3 separate regions of the Homo sapiens genome follow, and regions 1 and 2 are each linked to region 3. Evidence: promoter capture Hi-C in human tissues and cell types (Jung and others, 2019). All regions are on one chromosome and are shown on one strand. The core of a region is centred on a gene start or on the middle of the fragment in contact, and the rest is flanking DNA. Distances in the headings are between cores, read along the strand shown. Region 1 has its middle 140 kb from the start of LINC02498. Region 2 has its middle 79 kb from the start of LINC02498. Region 3 holds the start of CLNK (cytokine dependent hematopoietic cell linker).

Evidence for each region. The method cuts DNA at HindIII sites, captures the fragments that hold promoters and counts their contacts. A contact is called where the count stands out against the background at its distance.
Region 1: a fragment that was not itself captured here is called in contact with the fragment with the promoter of CLNK in region 3 in 1 of the 25 tissues and cell types used here (mesendoderm cells).
Region 2: a fragment that was not itself captured here is called in contact with the fragment with the promoter of CLNK in region 3 in 1 of the 25 tissues and cell types used here (lymphoblastoid cells).

What each region holds. Positions count from the first base shown.
Region 1 is chr4:10,873,427-10,876,268 of GRCh38, reverse strand. No RefSeq gene overlaps it. Among named protein-coding and RNA genes, the nearest start is that of LINC02498, 140 kb to the right of the region's middle. The HindIII fragment of the contact is 3,938 bases long and covers 1-2,842 here.
Region 2 is chr4:10,815,055-10,818,141 of GRCh38, reverse strand. No RefSeq gene overlaps it. Among named protein-coding and RNA genes, the nearest start is that of LINC02498, 79 kb to the right of the region's middle. The HindIII fragment of the contact is 3,086 bases long and covers 1-3,000 here.
Region 3 is chr4:10,683,180-10,686,376 of GRCh38, reverse strand. CLNK (cytokine dependent hematopoietic cell linker) reads left to right here and starts at 1,609. Exons shown (of 19, transcript NM_052964.4): 1 at 1,609-1,709. The HindIII fragment of the contact is 5,072 bases long and covers 458-3,197 here.

The sequences.
Region 1 (2,842 bases), core at 67-2,566, 190 kb before region 3:
AAAGGTTTTTCTCATGTCTGAGAAGCTGCACCTTCTCTAAAATCATAGTCAGAACGGAGGAGACTCATTGGTCAGCATTTCTGGGCCTGAAAACCACTTTGCTTCCTTCATATGCCATTTGGAAAGCTTTAGATTTGTGTTGCAAAGGCCTTTGTTGGTGGAAAATGTTGAGATGACTGAACAATGATTTGTAGAAATATAGATACATATAGGTAGATAACTATAGGTATCTCAATATGGGAAAAGTTGGTCAAAAATATTTACTATAATTTTACCGTTCATAGATCTAGGTGCAACAGAATATTTAAAATAAATTTAAAACAAAAAGATGTAGGTACAGTGTGCAGAAGACTCTTGGTTAGGTCACTTTGAATTAGTTTTCTACAATATCTGTATCCTACAATACCGGAATGCATTTGCTTATCGAAGTGAACATTTCCAGAGGGTGAAGCTGAAGTTCAGACCCACAGGACTCAGGGCCTCAAAGTGTATCCTTTGCATCAACAGAAGCCCACAAAAATTCTCACACTCTGAAGTTTAGGCATGAAAGACATACATAAGATTGTTTGTCAATATTTTAAAATCGCATTTAAGACTTGGTTTGTTAATCACAGGTTTTGTTTCCTGGCTCTGAGCAAATGATAGAAAGTGAAACAGCATACCTCTCAATTGGGTGCAGTAGGAGATGCTGGAAGGTTTAGATGTAAAATTACATAACTTTCTGCATCTGGGTGGGGCTCTGGTAAGATCTCTGCCCTCTATGTCCTCCCAAGGAATCTTAATTTTACGAGGAGGGAGATAAAGAGAAAAAAAAATCTGCAAAGGAACTAAAGAAGTGAGAAAGATTTTTTTAAAATCTCTTTTCTTGCCTAAAAGGTGACAGACTAAACCAGAACAAGACATTTGCATAATAAAACACCAGCAGAAATGAACTAGGCTAACTAAGCAAAAGGTGTTGTGGAGCTTGCAGTCAGCAGAGGTACTCACACATTTTAATAAGTTCCAGGTTTGAGCCTATGTCTGGGTATATTGGAATCAGCATGAATGTGGAATTCAGAAAAAAACCTATTCTGCAACATAACCTTTGGCAATGGTCTTGATCCCTAACCCCCTAGCCCCACACCCATATAGTGGACTTAGTACTAGGATGAATGGCCAAAATGAGGCATTCTCCCTCTGTTCCTCCCATCTGTCTTTGGTAAAATGGGGACATTAATGCCCATTTCTGAGTTCCAAAAATTAACTGTAATAATAAATGCAGAGAGTCTGCTACACAGTAGGTTCTGGAGGTGAGCGTCCCTGCCCCTCACCAGCATTAAAAATTAAAAAGTCATTTTCATATTGGAACATTTGGAGTGGACTCCTCAAGGATTATGAATTCTATTAATATTTGTCTCTCAAATAAAAGAACAATTGGGGATAAAATTGCACCCAGCCAAATCCATTTTAAATGGATGAGAGTGGAGCAGAAAATAATGAAGAAGAATGTAGACAGATACAAAACGGGACTTAGACCATTTTGCTGCTAATAGGTGCCACAGACAGTTCATTACTGATAAATGTAGAATAATGATGTTCTTAATGAGTCTTTTCACGCACAAATTCATCATAAAACAAGAGGATGAGGTAAAACAAAAAGTCTTTGAATAGCACTCATGCAGCAGGGAAAGCAAGGATAATTTATGTCCCCCAAAAAGCTACCGATTTAATAAAGCCTTCTGAGATTGACTTCATTGTGTCCCAACTTAATAGCATTTCTTCTCATGTCTGAGAGGTAAATTTCAACCTGCCACACAATTTGGCGCACCTAAAAGAGATCAAAAGAGGTAGCTCTGCTGCTTGTGTTTAAAAGTTCCTATGGCCCCATATCAGTGATTGGACCTTGAGTCATTATCTATGCCCGAAGTTTGTCATTATAATATGAGAATAATAATTCCTATTCTGGGTGCCTCACACTTGATTGGTGTCATGGGCTGAACTGTGTCCCTCCCAAAATCCTTATATTGAAGTTCCAATCCCCTCAGTGCATCAGAATACCACTGCATTTGCAGATAGGCTCTTTAAAGAGATAATTAGATTAATTAAAAAGGTCATTAGGGTTGGTGCCAATTGAATATGACTGGCGTCTTTATAAGAAGAGGAGATTAAGGCACTGACACACACAGAGAGAAGGCCATGTGAGGACACAAAGGGAAGGCAGCCATATATCTACAAGCTGGGAAGAGAGGCCTCAGAAGGAACCAGTTTTGCTGACACCATGATTTTGGACTTCCCAGTCTCCAGAACTGTGAGACAATAAATGGTTGTTTAAGCCCTAGAAAACAAATATAGTTCAGTGCTTGGTGCTCAAAAATTGGATGAAGATTTTTGTTCACCCACTCCTTAAGTGTCACTTCATTAAGCCTGTGGCAGCTACAGGTGAGGATGTCAGACACAGATGCTGTGTTGAAGTGCTTTTTGAGTTAACAGTGCAAAACATGGTAAACATTTTAGAGGTTATAGCCATTACTTTCTCCTGCCTTCTATGTACATTTAATAGATGGTCTCTCTCTGTGTGCAATGTTCTAAATAAAGGATTCTATAAAACAATAGAACCAAATCAAGTTGACCTAATTTTAAATCAATACTACTAAATACCTGTGGTACACAGAATTCTAAGAAGGCCTTAAAAACTCCCACCCCCTAGTGTATGTGCCCAGTATAATCTCTTCCTCCTGAGAGAAGCTAGGTCTGTGGAATATGATATATATAAAGTAATGCTAACATGGGAGTGATTATTACAACACCTTCACCTGATAATGTAACCTAATCAAATCAAATAATTTAACATAAGACTTTGTCC
Region 2 (3,087 bases), core at 208-2,707, 130 kb before region 3:
TAAGCTTACTCTAAACCGAATGTTTTATAACAATAACGCATTCTTATATTACTTGTGTAATTTTAAAGTAGATTTTAAAACATATAATAGAGATAAAAAATCTATTGGTAAAACCATTATTTTAATGATTTATTAATCTTTCTTGAACTTGTTCAACAGTAATGTATTTCTCAGACAGGTATAGCAGGTAACACCTACAAAAACCTCACTGTATTTCAAGGGTTAATAAATAACACCCCTTTTTTCCTAATTGTGTTGAGAAGTAATTAAACGATGGATAGAGGAATCAGACCAATGGACATCTTCATGTAAACTTTATTGCTGGTTAAAGCTAAGTTAGAGGTCTTGGCTTAAATGCAAAATCATATGAGCTACAGCTCATTCTACAACCCCAGAAATACGCTAGTCTTGTCAGTTACTGGAAAGGTTTTAAAACTACAGGACCACTACAAGGGAACCCGCCCTTGTAAAATTTACTGCATAAGGAAGCAGGGAATATATAGGCCAGCAAATTTGCTTCAGATATGTGGTAGGCAGAGTTCTAAGATCACCCCTCAAATTCTTGGCCTCTGGTGAACAACATATCCATTTTCTCAGTTATTCAATCAAATACTAATCTAGGTGTTTCTCTGAAGGAATTTTGCAAATATAATTTAGGTCCAAAACCAGTTGACCTTATTATGAGGGAGATTATCCAGGTAGGCCTGGCCTAATCACATGAGCCCTTTAAAACTGGGCTAAAGGTCAGAGATGAAGAAGTCAGCGATTGGAAGCATGCTCTGGCTGCCTTAAAGCTGGAGGGGACCTAGTCTCAAGGAATGTGGGCTGCCTTTAAGTGCTGAGACTGCCACTGGTGGACATCCATTGAGCAACTGGAAAACCTTAGTACACAGTGACAAGGAACTGAATCCTGCCAATGCAAACAATGAGCTTGGATGCAGATGTTTTCCAGAGCCCCCAGACCGGACATCAGCCTAGCCAACACTTTGATGTCAGTCTTGGGATGCCGTGAACAGAGAACCCAATCACACCATGCCAGACTTCTGACCTACAGAGCTGTGAGCTAATAAATGGGTATTGTTTTCCTCCACTAGGTTTGTAATATTTTGTTACACAGCAATAAAAAGCTGATGTACAAAGGAAGAAGACTAGAAAGAGTTAAGCCCTGAATGCACCAAACAGAAAAGTGGAAGAAAGATGGAGAGAGTGGAGAGAGGCCTGCAGGTTACTTTAGTGGATGTTCTGCCACCTGGAAACACGGGAATGGGGAGTGAGCGTTCCCTGTTCGCGTAGGCTCGGCAACGTTCACCATTAGCTCCAGATGGGAACTTCCTGATGACCTAGCCCAGTGTTCTCAACAGAGGCCCCATTCACATTTTCAGCAGGACAAGCCTTTGTTATACTGGGCTGTCTTATGCATTACAAGAGGTTTACTTTTCCTGGGCCTCACCCATTAAATGTCAGATGTATTCCTCCAAACATCGGGGCAACCAGAAATACTCTCTAGCATTCCTATATGCCCTCAGACTGGCTGAGAATCATTCGGACCACACTGGCTGAGAACCAATGAAGCTCAACCCCGTATATTACAGATAAAGAAAGTGAGAGCAAGAGAGAGAAAGGGTCTTTGAGAAGGTCTCATAGCCTTTCCGTGTCAGTACTACAGGTAGGATTCCTAGTAGACTGTTTTTGCAAACATAAATTATACATGGAATATTTTAGTATAAGGTCTTTACCATTCTGGCCACCTGACATGATTCTGGACACCCATGTCTCCCTCCTATACATCACCAAGTGATTGCTCAAATGTCACCCTTTCAGAAAAGCGTTTGTGATCCTCCTATCTAAAATTGCAGTGCCCCCGCACACATACATTATCAGTATTCAGTACTTACCATCTTCCTTCCCTAATTTATTTTTTACATAATACTTATGACCTTTTAACAGACTTGTAAGATGTACTGATTTTTTTTTTAATTTTGGTCTGTCTAGACTACAACTATAAAATAAACTCCAAGAGTGAAGGATTTCAGTCCACTTTGTTCCTTCTGTGTCCCCGGTACCTGTATCATTGCCTGACACCTGGGCGGCACTCAGTATTAATGGAATAAATAAATGAGTGGAGCCATTATGCCAAGTATTTCATACAAGTAATTATTTTCTTTCCTTCTGTTTGGAAAGAAAAATAAATGTTAGAATTAATAAAATCACTTTGTATTTACTAACAACTATTTCACAGGAACAACTATGAAAAATATGGTGAAGAAGTTTATGAAAACAAAGTATATTCAGTAAAAGGTTTTTGTATTAGATTTGATAAAATAGGGTATCCAGCAAAGAAAATTGTTTTATTTTCTCAGTCAAAAATAATATTTTACTTTTTAAATAAAATTGGGTCATGCATAGTGTATTTATTTTTTATAAATTAAGTGTTGGTCAGCTCTGACACTAATAATATGAATTCAAAATCTTTTAAATTTTGCAGGAGATTGTTAATCTAAATTTTTCTTCTACTGCACCCTCCCTAGACTAACAAGGTCAACAGTTGGGTTTTTGTTGTTGTTGTTGTTGTTTTGTTTTTTTGTTTTTAGGGAATGCCGAATTTTTTAAAATTTAACTCATGGTGTAATAGATGTATTCTATTTTTAAAAATACTGAGTACCTTGCTAGATGTCAATATAATTTTACTTTTGGAAATACATAGATAACTTTGACTTGATCCTTGACCTTGAACAGCCTATTTATTAATGGTAGGTAGCTGGAATAGGTATGCATACAAAATATTGTTAACAATTTAGGGTGTATACAATTTGTCATAACAATAGAATGAATTCTTACTTTATTTATTTTTATTTTATTTATTTATTTATTTTTTGAGACAGAGTCTCGCTCTGTCTCCCAGGCTGGAGTGCAATGGTGCAATCTCAGCTTACTGTAACCTCTGCCTCCTGGGTTCAAGTGATTCTCTCACCTCAGTCTCCCGAGTAGCCAGGATCACAGGCACACACCACCACGCCCAGCTGATTTTTGTGTTTTTAGTAGAGATGTGTTTTCACCATGTTGGCCAGGCTGGTCTCGAACTCCTGA
Region 3 (3,197 bases), core at 360-2,859:
ATACGTCCCAGCTAAAATTCATTTGTTAAAGTCCTAACCCCCCACTACCTTGGAATGCCTTCTGACATGGAGACTGGGTCTTTAAAGAGGTAATCAAGTTAAAATTGGGTAATTAGGGTGAGCCATCATTCACTGTGACTCCTCTCCTGATAAGAAGGGGAAATTTGGACAAAGACACAGGGAGAATGCCATGTAAACACAAAAACAAGGATACAAAGACACCCACAAGCCGGGGATAAAGGCCTGGAACAGATCTTCTCCTCATGGCTCTCAGGAGGATCCAACCTTGCCGACTCCTTGATCTCAGACTTCCAGAGGCCAGACTGTGAGACAATACAATTTGACCTTCTGTTTTGTTAGCCACTCAGGGCTCAGTCCTTTGTTATGAAAACCCCAGAAAATTAATATGGGTCCAGACCAAAAGAAGTGAGCAAGTGACACACACAATTATGAACTAAATAAAGTGGTTACTGCTTTAAGCCCCTAATGCAGCAAAAGCTAATTAATAAAGTGGTTAAACTACTCGAGTCTCCCTAGTCTTCAGTTTTCACAATTACAAAATGGGATTTTACATATGTTCCTTACATGGTTATTAGTAAGATTAAGGAGGATAATGCTTGCAAGTTGCTTAGCAATGTAACTGACTCACAATTAGCATTCAAAGAGTGCTTATTTTCATGTTTTCCTTGGGGTGTCTGTTAAGTCAAAACCAGAGTTATTTACCCAAGAAAATATAAACTTCTACCTTTGAATTTATTGTAAATAATGTTGGAGTTTGTTATGGAATTCAACATCAATTTATATAAAACTAGAATGTCAAGTCTCCAGAAGAGGAAACAGGCACTCGGCAAGATCAGCTTAAATGGACCAAGATTAAGGCCGAAAGAAAATGTATTAAGCAACTGATATGTGCCCAAACATTACTGCATGCCTTTATTTACAATATTTTGTTTATTTATTGAAATACTTCTAAAATATAAATATTATCCTTCCATCACAATTGAGGAAATATCATTTCCTCAATGAAGGAAATATAATCCTCAATTATCCCTCATTTTTTAAAAAAGTTTCTAAAATACAAATATTATTATCACTCAAACTACTTGAGAAATAAACTTCAAAGTGCCCAAGATCCTATAGCTAATAATTAATACAGCAAGAATAAGAGGCAGGCATTTCTCCTTTAGTTCCCAGGTTCTTTCCTTAACACCTGGTCCATGTGTCTGGGATGGTCTCAGGAAGCCATTGCAAAATTAAGCCAAAAGATGATAGTTAATGTCCACTATTCATATAAAGTGAGACTCGCAAAACCCACCTTCCATGCTTGAGTGTTGCCCAGCAGTTCCTTTTATTGTGTTCTGGTAACTATGAAGTGCCACATAAGGACACCGTGTGTCTTTAAAAACACCCTTTGCATTGGAAGATTTCAGCCTCTGAAAGCTTCACGTATTGCACTCCAGCCTAAGAAGAGGAAGTCCTGCCAGCCCTCAGGTCAGACCTCTCAGGTCTGTGGCTGCATTTCACAGGAAACCAAGTCTAAAACGGACCTATCAGGAGGTTTTCTGCTGAAGGGCACTGCTTAGCATCGAGAAGAATTCAACCCACCGCCTTACTAATTTCCAGTGCCCCAAGGTCTCTGCACTGCCGCCCCTCCTCACAGGAGACGGACACCTCAGCCTAGATCCCTTGGTGCTCTCCACGCTGTTCAGGTAAACTCATTAGGCCAGTTCTTCTGAGTGAGGATCTCATGGTCATCTCCTTGTCATAAATGATCATCAGGAAAGACCTGAGCAGCAAGTAAAAATGTGTTTCTAAAGTGGAAGTCTGGGCCTTATATATAGCATCAAAGGAGCAAGAAGAAAGCCCTTAACTCAATTGTTAAAGATCCTTTCATTCTTTTGGGAGAAAGAATCAGGATACCTACCCACAGAAAATTAAAAGACTAAATGTTTTCAATCTTCTTTTCCTGGAGCTTGGACTCCCCGACTGTTTGCAACTGAAATCTAAAGACCAGGCCCCATGGCTGGCTTTCCTGGCTGACCTTCATTAAGTAAGCCCTCTAGAAAGAAAGCCTCCATTCAAAGTAGGTCATTCAAAGTATAAGTTAACTCCTGGAGCCCTGTGGAAATATATTTTTAACATTTTCTAAAGTAATACGATTTTCTTTCTGCTTTGGTGTAGAGGAGACTTAGACTTTGGAATCACGCAGACATCCTTCCACTCACAAGAGTAAGGAGCTCAAAAGTGAGGTTAAAGTTGGGGTTAAATTCTTACTCTTGAAAAGTGCCGGGAGTCATCTCTACCAGGCTTTTATTGGATAAAGCAAACAAACTGGAATGAGACAGAAAAGAAAATAACTATCATCAAAATATGGATACTTTGATTTTAAAAGGTGTCGATATGCCTGAACTTTTTATCAATACTGTTTTTATTACTTTACACCAGTGTTACTCATTTGGCTTCTCTGTTATGAGTATTACTTGTCTATTACCTACATGGCTATTTCTCTGGCTGTCTCTGTCTATACTGTGGCGCAGCTCCTCAATAGTGTTGTTCTTTGGATTTCCAGGGGCCTCCCAAACCACCAGGAATAATCATTTCAAATATCAAGAAGACGATGGTAGAGCTGGTTAATTGAAGGCCTACCAGAGAAATGACAGCGCTTCAGAAATCCTCTAAGAAGCTTAAGATACAGTATGCCCTAGAGAAGTAGGAATGGCAACTGGCATTTACTTACCTTCAGCTCCTGCTGACCTAGAGAGCTGGCTATTACTTTCCCTGGTTTACAGGTGAAGAACTTGAGTTCTCTAAGTAATATGTGCAAGGTTGTTCAGTCACTAATGTCAGTAACAGAATTCAGAAGGAAACTGATTTTCCTGGCTGACTGATTGGAATGGTGAACAGTGTTAGTTTGCAGTTTCACAGAGCTCATCCCTAAACTCACTCCTGGGTGGTCTCTGACACCAACCATCTAAATGGTAGTATTTCTTTGTTATTCCCAACAAGCCCTCTCAGATGACTGTATAGGCAAGACCATTTGAAAGCCAGTGCTTATAATCTTCTGTACCATCTGGCCAGCTCTGGCCTGAACACCAGGGGATTCTGTTTCTCGATCACTTTGCCATGAGTCAGGTGCTGTCTTAGAAAGACTGTAGGATTTGACGCCTGATCAAAATGGTGAGGATCCTGACTCTGCC